Linked DNA regions of Homo sapiens: regions 1 and 3 are each linked to region 2. The links are contacts of gene promoters, found by promoter capture Hi-C in human tissues and cell types (Jung and others, 2019). All regions are on one chromosome and are shown on one strand. Each heading gives the region's core, a stretch centred on a gene start or on the middle of the fragment in contact. The rest is flanking DNA. Distances are from core to core; before and after follow the strand shown.

What was found. Contacts are between HindIII fragments. The study calls those that stand out against the background at their distance.
Region 1: a contact is called between a fragment that was not itself captured here and the fragment with the promoter of FAM110D in region 2, in 1 of the 25 tissues and cell types used here (neural progenitor cells).
Region 3: a contact is called between a fragment that was not itself captured here and the fragment with the promoter of FAM110D in region 2, in 1 of the 25 tissues and cell types used here (bladder).

What each region holds. Positions count from the first base shown.
Region 1 is chr1:25,911,529-25,914,964 of GRCh38, reverse strand. No RefSeq gene overlaps it. Among named protein-coding and RNA genes, the nearest start is that of MIR3917, 6.8 kb to the right of the region's middle. The HindIII fragment of the contact is 5,467 bases long and covers 1-3,436 here.
Region 2 is chr1:26,157,096-26,160,380 of GRCh38, reverse strand. It overlaps FAM110D (family with sequence similarity 110 member D), which reads right to left and starts at 1,302. Exons shown (of 2, transcript NM_024869.3): 1 at 1,255-1,302. RefSeq lists an enhancer at 3,028-3,285. The HindIII fragment of the contact is 16,538 bases long and covers 1-3,285 here.
Region 3 is chr1:25,970,055-25,973,137 of GRCh38, reverse strand. PAFAH2 (platelet activating factor acetylhydrolase 2) reads left to right here. Exons shown (of 11, transcript NM_000437.4): 10 at 426-580. Among named protein-coding and RNA genes, the nearest start is that of PAFAH2, 26 kb to the left of the region's middle. The HindIII fragment of the contact is 4,625 bases long and covers 1-3,083 here.

The DNA.
Region 1 (3,436 bases), core at 125-2,624, 250 kb after region 2:
CTTAGCTGTCACTTACTGAGGGTTTATTGTGTATAGACACAATGCTAGGGACTTTACATATATTATTTTATTTAGTCCTGGCAGCTCTATGAGGTAGGGGTGTTCTTCCCATTTCACAGATGATGGAACACAGGCCCCAAAAGGGGAAGTCACGTGCCCACACTCATACAAATAGTAACTGAGCAGTACCTGCTGCATCATATAAAGGACAGGATTCAAATTCCCCCTGACATGACACGAACTAGCCATGTGACATTGGGCAAATGTCTAGAGTTCTCTGGTCTTTTCTCCCCTATTTGTAAAATAACAGGGGTAGCCTGATAAAACAGTTTAGAGTGATAGCTGAAAGCATAGAGTCAGGGCCAGACTACAAAAGCTCTGCCGCTTCTGTGTGGCCTAGTTGAACAAGTGATCTAAGCTTGCTGCAAACCTGCTGCTAATGTTTGCCAGACCCAGGGCAGGAGTATAGAAGGGAAGCCCACATACCATATGGCTAAGTATTTAAGAGTTATAAATCAAGCTAACAAACTATTTTTTAAAAATATATGTTCTATCCTCCTACCTTGACAAATATACCTCCATAACAACCTAGAAAGCCAGGTTTTGAGTTGAGAATTCTTGGATTCCCTGGAGTTCCATGTGAGAATGTAGCAGAGCCAGCTCCCTTCTCTTCTCATTCCTGTGTGCATTCCCCAGCCCACATGCTCAGCCTCTGTTCACACCCCTTGCAAACAGCCAGCTCTAAGCACAGGGGTGCACTCACTGGCAGGAAGTTTGCCCTTGGGAGGATGGAACCAGGGAAAGGGTTGGCACAGATGCTGAAAATGGACTTGGGCCATTTTGGCAGGGAATTCTGGAGTCCTGGGTATTGAGAGGGTGGTCTAGAAGGGGTGCACAGGCTCCAGGCGGGCATATCTCTTTGGACCCAGGGAACTGTGAGGAGGGACACAGCTGGAGGAGGATTAGGGTGCAGCCCTCTAAAGAGTAGGGCCTAGGACAAGGACCCCATCTGACATATCTAAAAAAGGGGCCGGGTACGGTGGCTTATGCCTGTAATCCCAGCACTTTGGGAGGCCGAGGCAGGTGGATCACCTAAGGTCAGGAGTTCGAGACCAGCCTGACCAACATAGAGAAACCAACATGGAGAAACGTCTCTATTAAAAATACAAAATTAGCCGGGCATGGTGGTGCATGCCTGTAATCCCAGCTACTCGGGAGGCTGAGGCAGGAGAATCGCTTGAACCCGGAAGGTGGAGGTTGCGGTGAGCCGAGATTGCGCCATTGCACTCCAGCCTGACCAACAAGAGCGAAACTCTGTCTAAAACAAAAACAAAAACAAAAACAAAAACAAACTTTAAAAAGCTACTATCTTTCCATGCCTCAGTTTCCTTTATTTTATTATTATTTTTCCCTCTAAAAAAGGCATTCTGAATCAGTTCCTTTATTTAGAATGACCAACTCATCTGGGCTTGCCTGGAACTTTCCCTGTTTTAGCACTAAAAGTCTCAAGTCCTGGAAAAACCCTTCAGTCCCTGGTAAACCAGGAGAGTTGGTCACCTTCATTGCCTCATCTTTGCAATTAAGCTAATAATACCTCATAAGACTGTCATGAGAATTAAGTGAGTTAGTACATGTGGAGTGTTTAGACCAGTGGCTGCTGTGTGGTAAGCATTCTATGTGAGCTATTAACATTTAAAAGATTCCAGTCTAGGCCAGGTGTGCCTGGACTGGCTCATGCCTGTAACCCCACCACCTTGGGAGGCCAAGGCAGGAGGATCACTTAAGACCAGGAGTTCAAGACCAGCCTGGGCAAAGTGGTGAGACCCCATCTCTAAAAAATAATTTAAAATTAGCCAGGCATGGTGACACATACCTGTTGTCCCAGCTACTCAGAAGGCTGAGGCAGGAGGATCACTTGAGCCTGAGAGGTTGAAGCTGCAGTGAGCCATGTTCACACCACTGCACTCCAACCAGGGTGACAAAGTGAGAACCTGTCTCAAAACAACAAGAACAACAAAAAAGATAAAATGCTGCCAATAATTATAACATGCTATTTATTGACTATGAGGACCAACTGATTTCAAAGATAAAAAATGTGGGGGAAAAAATACATCTTAGAATTAATTAAATAAATAAGATCTGTGCCAGGCACATTGGGAGGGGAGTGAGATACAGCAATGAGAAAGACCCTGCCTTCAGAAAGCTTCCAGTCTCACAGCGCACTTCCAATCTCAGTGCAGTCCAGTCTCTTCCAATGGAAGTGCACTTCCAATCTCATTGCAGCCATGTGAGTCACAGGACTGAGACGGGTGCCACAGTGCAGGCACTAGAGCTGTTCTGAGATCAGCCTGTTGCTAGTCAAATATTTATAGGAGTTATTAATATAGACAGAATTGACAGCCATGTCTTTCTTGGGATTTTGGCTCCTCCCCCTCCTTTTCTCTAATGCCTGAAATTTCTAGGGACAAAGCCTTGCAAATCATTTTTGAATGAGTTGAGATAATGAATTAAAGTGCCACATGGTGAGTGTTGAATTGGTACAACGTGGAAGGCAATTTGGCACCATCCAAATTACAAATGTGCTTGCCTTTTAGCCCTGAAATACCATTTCTAGGAATATGTCTTGCAGATATACTCACACCCATAGGAAATGCCATATGAACTAGGTCATTCATTACAGCATGGTGAGCTATTCTGAATAACTGGGAATAACCTAAAGAGCCACAGATATCCCACTGGTTAACTGCATCTTGGAATATTCATACCATGGACACCAGATCAAAGAAATCCTTGATGTATGAACAGGGAAAAGACCCCTGACGTGGTTTTTGTTTGTTTGTTTAAGAGACAGCGTCTCTGGCCAGGTGTGGTGGCTCACATCTGTAATCCCAGCACTTTGGGAAGTCAAGGCGGGTGGATCACTTGAGGTCAGTAGTTCAAAGCCAGCCTGGCCAACATGGTGAAAACCCATCTCTACTAAAAATACAAAAAATTAGCCAGGCGTGGTGACATGTGCCTGTAATCCCAGTTACTCAGGAGGCTAAGGCAGGAGAATCCCTTGAACCCAGGAGGCGGAGGTTGTAATGAGTTGAGATTGTGCCGCTGCACTCCAGCCTGGGTGACAGAGCGAGATCCTGTCTCCTTCAGCTTGGGTTACAGAGTAAGATTCTGACTCAAAAAACAAAGAGACAGGGTCTCGTTCTGTCACCCAGGCTGGGGAACAGCGGCGTGATCATGGCTCACTGCAGGTGGTCCTCCCACCTTAGCTAGGACTACAGGCCCGTGCCACCATGCCCAGCTAATTTTATTTATTTATTTGTATTTTTTCATTTATTTGTAGAGACAGGTTCTTGCTATGTAGCCCAGGGTGGTCTCAAACTCTAAGCCTCAGGTGATTATTCTGCCCTGGCTTCCCAAAGTGCTGGGATTACAGGTG
Region 2 (3,285 bases), core at 53-2,552:
GGCTCATGCCTGTAATCCCAGCACTTTGGGAGGCCGAGGTGGGTGAATTACCTTAGGTGAGGAGTTCCAGACCAGCCTGGCCAACATGGCAAAACCCCATCTCTACTGAAAATACAAAAATTAGCCAGGCGGGGTGGCGCACACCTGTAATCCCAGCTACTTGGGAAGCTGAGGCAGGAGAATCGCTTGAAGCTGGGAGGCGGAGGTTGCAGTGAGCCGAGATCGCGCACCACTGCACTCCAGCCTGGGCAACAGAGCGAGACTCCGTCTCAAAAAAAAAAAAAGAAAAAAAAAAAGAACTCACTGATATTTTGCGTGTATTCCCGCTGCTATAAAACCAAGCAATTTCCGTTAGAAATGGGCCCCTTGCCTCACTAAAAAGTTCCTTCCACTAATTCTTCCTAATAACCTGCGCTCCCACTCCCAGAAATTTGCCCCCAGGGTCCTTGTCCCTTTTTTATCCTAAGACCTCATGACCCTTTTCCACCTCCCTTCTGCTGGGGCAAGGAGCGAGGAGGGGTTGTAAATCAAGAGCTGACAGTTCTCTTGGCAGTAACAGAATGGGCCACCCACATGGCCCTGCACACCCGACCCCACCCCTATCTTCCCCTACTCCCCCTGAGTCCTGGAGGCTGAGGGACCTTGGATCTGGGGACAACAAAGGAACAGAATTAGCCAGGGAAGTGGGGAAGGAGTCTGTGAGAGGCCTTGGGGCAGAGACCCTGCCAGGTCCAGCCCACCCCTGCACCCAGCATCTAGTGTGTAGTCAGTCTGCTCATAGGTAGTTGAGGCCTGGGAACCAAGGAGAGTCTGGCAGTGTCCCCCTCCCTGTCTCCCAGGGAGTCTCCTTGGCAGTGGGTCAGATTCCAAGGTCCCAGGAAGGCACTGCTTGTCTGACCCCATGGGTGCCCTCTGTCCTCTCCTCTTCTCCCCAGCCCTGAGCAGGGAGACTATAAAAAGTTCCTAATCACAAGGACCAAAATAGTCTGTCATCCACAGCCTCTTCCCTGCCTTCTGGGCTAGCCTGGAGGCCGGACCTCAGACATCCCGCCCTAGAAGCCTGGCAGGCAGCCTCGGGCCCTCCATTCCTTTGCCTGCCTTCTCCCAGTCCTGAAACTTGTGGTCTCAACTCTGCCCAAGGCTTCTGCTCTGGGCATGGGCCATCTTTTAGGCTCACTAGTTTGGCACCAGTCTCCCTGCCCTCAGGCCCCTGGGTTCCTTCTTACCCCAGCCCTGGGCTCAGGGTACACTCACCTCTGCATGGGAGGCCTAATTGCAGGGGTCCTTGGGCAGGTCCAGACTGAGGGCAGGAGTGGACAGCAAGGACTAGAAGTAACTTTGGTGGCAGCCAAACCTCACTCTCCACAGGAAAAGCAGAGAAAGCCTCCACCCCCCGCCCCCCAAATTAACCCTCGCCTTCCTGAGGCAGATCCTGGCCTCCATTAACTCTTTCCTGATCACAGTCCTGCGCTGTGGAGACCTGTGAACCAAGTCCAGCTCCTTTTATTTTACAGATGGTCAAACAGTCCCAGCCCGGTTAGGTGATTGGCTGTGGAAGCACTGTGAGCTTGGGCAGAGCCAGGACTCCAAACAAGGCCTCCTGATCCCCAGGCTTCCTCCAAAGGCCTGGGGTGGGGGCTCCGTATGTGGGATCAGCCCCCTCCCTGGGCTGTGGCAGATGCTCTGACAGTCTGAATGGGAAGGCAGAACAGGGTTCTAGTCAACTTGCTTTTTTCCCTCTGTAGCAGGCTGAGACCTGTCTTGGTCTGGGTGCTGGGTGGTGTCAAGCCTGCTTTCCCTGGGGGCGAGACCAGGAATCTGCAGCCTAAGGGTGGGGGCATTGGTGCTATAGATGTGCAGGTGAGCCTGTGGCGGCAAGTCTTGTCATGAAGGTGACCCTGGAGCCCACTGGAGCTGCCTCTGCCAAGGTCCTTTCATGGCAGATGGGATTGCCTGGGAAGACAGTGATGAGGGGCTGATTCCAGGGCCAAGCCCAGGTCCTTTGGCCCGCTTCCTTCTCTGCCCACACTTGGAGCCTCTTAGAGCTTCTTCCATCAGAGTTTCTTCTCTGACACCTTATGTCTCAAGGTGAAACCCTACCTCATAGGAGACACCTCCCCTCTCCCCAGCAGGCAAACTAAACTCTCCAGCCCAGACTAAGACCAGTGCTCAGGCCAAAGGTTCCTTTCCCCCCTTGGCTGGCCACCTTCCCCAAGTCCCTCCTCCTCCTTTCTAGCCCTCTTTCATGTTTGCAAAGCACATTCCCGTCTGTGCTCTCTGATCTCCTTTGACCGCCCCCAAACAAGGACCCTAGACAGGCGTCCAGCAGGAATGACCCCCCACTTAATGAGTAAGGAAACAGGAGCTGAGGGGGGAGAGAGATGCCCAAAGCCCAGCTCCAAATCCACATTTGGAACTGCATCCTCTGCCTGTCAAGTCAGTAGTGGGTCTGAAAACCCAAGGCCCATCTCCCGGTAAAAGGTTTTTATTACCTAAAGGGGGGATTTTGTTGGTGATAGTTCCATATTTTGTTGCTACAGCACTTTTCAAAATGCCATTAGCTGCTTTGTCATAATCCCCATGACAATCTTTGGGGGAGGTTTTATTATTTTTCACACTTACGGCTGAAGAGACTGAGGCTCAGAGAGGAGAAATGACTTATCCAAGCTCACCAAACTCTGTCACCCAGGCTGGAGTGCCGTGACGTGATCTTGGCTCACTGCAACCTCCGCCTCCTGGGTTCAAGCGATTATCCTGCCTCAGCCTCCCGAGTAGCTGGGATAACAGGCAAGTGCCTGGCTAATTTTGTGTTTTTAGTAGAGACAGGGTTTTACCATGTTGCTCAGGCTGATCTTGAACTTCTGACCTTGCGATCTGCCGGCCTCGGCCTCCCAAAGTGCTGGGATTACAGGTGTGAGCCACCTCTCCCGGCCAATAGCTAACTTTTATTGAGAGATTAATATATGTTAGGGGCTATTCTAAGTACCTCACATAAGGATTAACATATTTAATCCTCAAAACAACCCGATGAAATGGCACTTTCGGGCCGGGCGAGGTGGCTCACACCTGTAATCCCAGCACTTTGGGAGGTGAAGGCGGGCCGATCACTTGAGGCCAGGAGCTGGAGACCAGCCTGGCCAACACGGCGAAACCCTGTCTCTACTAAAAATACAAAAATTAGCTGGGCGTGGTGGTGCGCTCCTGTAATCTCAGCTACTAGGGAGGCTGGGGCAGGAGAATCACTTGAACCCAGGAGGCGGAGGTTGCAGTGAGCCAAGATCACAC
Region 3 (3,083 bases), core at 326-2,825, 190 kb after region 2:
AATAACTTCATTTGTTTTGTGAATGTTTGAAATTCACCAGGCAAAAGCCACAGCTAATAGATTGTAGTAACATAGAAATGCCACGTGCCACAGATCCCACCTCCTTGCTCCTGTCCCTGCTCCTGCTAGCTCAACCTTTTCCCTGCACTGCCAGGCATTGTAGTCTACGGGTCAAGCCAGCTTTGAAGCCAAGCACATCTGGCTTCAAATCCTAACTCCATCCCCAACTACTTGTATGACCTGACCCTAAGCAGATAGTTTCTCTCCTTGGATTCTGTCAAGGGGGAAAATACTTCCCTTACAAGGTTGCTGTGAAAATAAAGTGTGATAATACATGAAAAGCACCTTGCACATAGTAGGTGCCTAACACACATCTGTATGCCCTAGCCGCCAGACCCCTGCCAGTTGTTTTTCTTTTCCCCTAGTGGTTCTGTTCATCGGAGTCAAACTGACTTTGCTTTTGTGACTGGCAACTTGATTGGTAAATTCTTCTCCACTGAAACCCGTGGGAGCCTGGACCCCTATGAAGGGCAGGAGGTTATGGTACGGGCCATGTTGGCCTTCCTGCAGAAGCACCTCGGTAAGGAGAAAACTGGGGCTCTTGGGGCAGCTGTGGGGTCCCTTAGATTTCCTTGCAGCAGAGTGAGAACTCTGACATGTCTGGGATCTGGGAAGGAGATTTATGGCAAATGGAAAACCTGAGTGAAGGAGAGACTTACATAGAATTACAGAAAAAACAAGTCCAGGTGCAGTGGCTCACGCCTGTAATCCTAGCACTTTGGTGGGTTGAGGTGGGAGGATGGCTTGGGGCCAGGAGTTCGAGACCAGTCTGAGCAACATAGTGAGACTCTATCTTTACCAAAAAAAAAAAAAAATTAGCTGGGTGTGGTGGCACACACCTATAGTCCCAGCTACTCGAGAGGCTACGGTGGGAGGATCAGTTAAGCCTAGGAGGTCTAGGCTGCAGTGAGCCATGATTGCACCACTGAACTCCAGTCTGAGCAACAGAGCAAGACCTTGTTTCTAAATAAATAATTAAACAAATAAATAAGAAAAAATACTTAACTGAAAGTTTGGAGATCCTGACTATCTTACTTGCAGAATGACCTGGCCTAGTCATTTAACCTCTCTGAACCTTGGTTTCCTCCCTGTAAATGGAGTATTCACCTCTCTCTACTCCACCACCTCTCTCCTTACCCAGACTCATTATTGCCCACCTTATCTGCATTGTAGGGGAGTTTATGAGGATAACGGGCTAAATTTATGGAAGTGTTTTAAAGAAACAAAGCATGGAAGGACTATGAATAATGTCATCAGTCATAGAGCAGCTAAAGGGCGAGGCCTGCAGAGGTCCATGGTCCAGCTTCCACCCAGAGGAGGCATCCTCTTATTAAGCTTTATTGGTTACAAAGACTAGAGGTTCACAAACTTAGCTTGAGAAAAAAAGGGGAGTTTGTTTATGAGAGTGCACCTGGACTGGGTGGGAGTGCAGTTATAGAAATCAGGGTGGCTGGCAGGACTGACTTTTCTTTCCGTCTGTCTCATGGGTTCAGTCTCTCTGTGTCTTCCTCTCACGACATCTCTTTTTCTTTGTTCCGTTATGCATTTTTTTTTCTGCTCTGTGGTTTTTCTCTCACTGATAGCAGCTGTTTATTCCATTTCTGCTTCCTCATAACTTCACTCGGCTTGAACCACTCAGAGTGTGTTCCCTTTAGCTTGCGGCATCCTTTCATCTTCAGCTCCCACTGCTCACTGCCATATTTTTTTGGATTTCTTTGAACAGATTTCCAAGAGAGGCAATTTGATTGTATCAGCTCCTCTTTGCCCACCAGAACACACTGTAGCCCCGTCCCAGCTAGGCTCTGAGCTCTCTGCATCAGAGGTCCCTTTCTGATCCCTCAGCAGGTGCTGTGTGCAGGGCAGTTTCCATGAGAAAGGAGCCAGGCTTGTCTGAATTTCAAAGGTTTGACTTAACTCTAACCTAAGAGCAAGATCTCCTAGTTTGTAACCCTCCTCTACTTGCCCAGGTTAACCCCTCAAGAGCTACCCATAGAAGCCTCAGACGGCACCTGGCAGTTCCCTAGATATTTGAAGTCACCTATGCTAGTCTTCTCTGAGTGTTCTGTTTATTAAACTAAATGTTCGTGGTACCTCCACCTGTCCCGGTTCAATTCCCCATGTTGCTATTTGTTATCCCCTTCCTTTGGAGTCGCTGTTTTTTGGTGCCCCTTCTAAAGTGTAGTGCCCTGGCCGGGTGTGGTAGCTCAACATCTGTAATCCCAGCTACTTTGGGAGGCTGAGATGGGAGGATTGCTTGAGGCCACGGGTTTGAGACCAGCCTGTGCAACATAGTGAGACCCCATCTCAGCAAAAAAATAAATAAAATTAGCCAGGTATGGTGGCATGTGCCTATAGTCCCAGCTACTCGGGAGGCTGGGGTGGAAGGATCACTTGAGCCTGGGAGGTCAAGACTGCAGTGAGCCAAGATCATGCCATTGCACTCCAGCCTGGGCAACAGAGTGATACCGTCTCCAAAAAATAAAATAAATAGATAAACTGTGGTGCCCTGACTTGACTATAATGTATTAGATGTGGTCTGACCGGTGCCATCCTGGACAGTCTCTTCTGTGCTCTGTTTTTTGTTTTGTTTTGTTTTGTTTGAGACGGAGTCTCACTCTGTCTCTCAGGCTGGAGTGCAGTGGTGTGATCTCAGCTCACTGCAACCTCAACCTCCTGGGTTCAAGCGATTCTCCGGCAGTTCTCCTGCCACAGCCTCCCAAGTAGCTGGGACTACAGGCATGTGCCACCACACCCAGCTACTTTTTGTATTTTTAGTAGAGACAGGGTTTCACCATGTTGGCCTGGCTGGTCTCGAACTCCTAACCTCCAGTGATCCACCTGCCTCGGCCTCCCAAAGTGCTGGGATTACAGGTGTGAGCCATCGCGCCTGGCCGTCTCTGTGCTCTGGACACTAGCCTTTTAGTTGGATGACCTGAGTGCATTCACATTCCTCACAAGTGCACAACAAACAGCCTGGATTGAGTTTGCATTTAAAACACATCTGTCTTACGCATTTATTGACT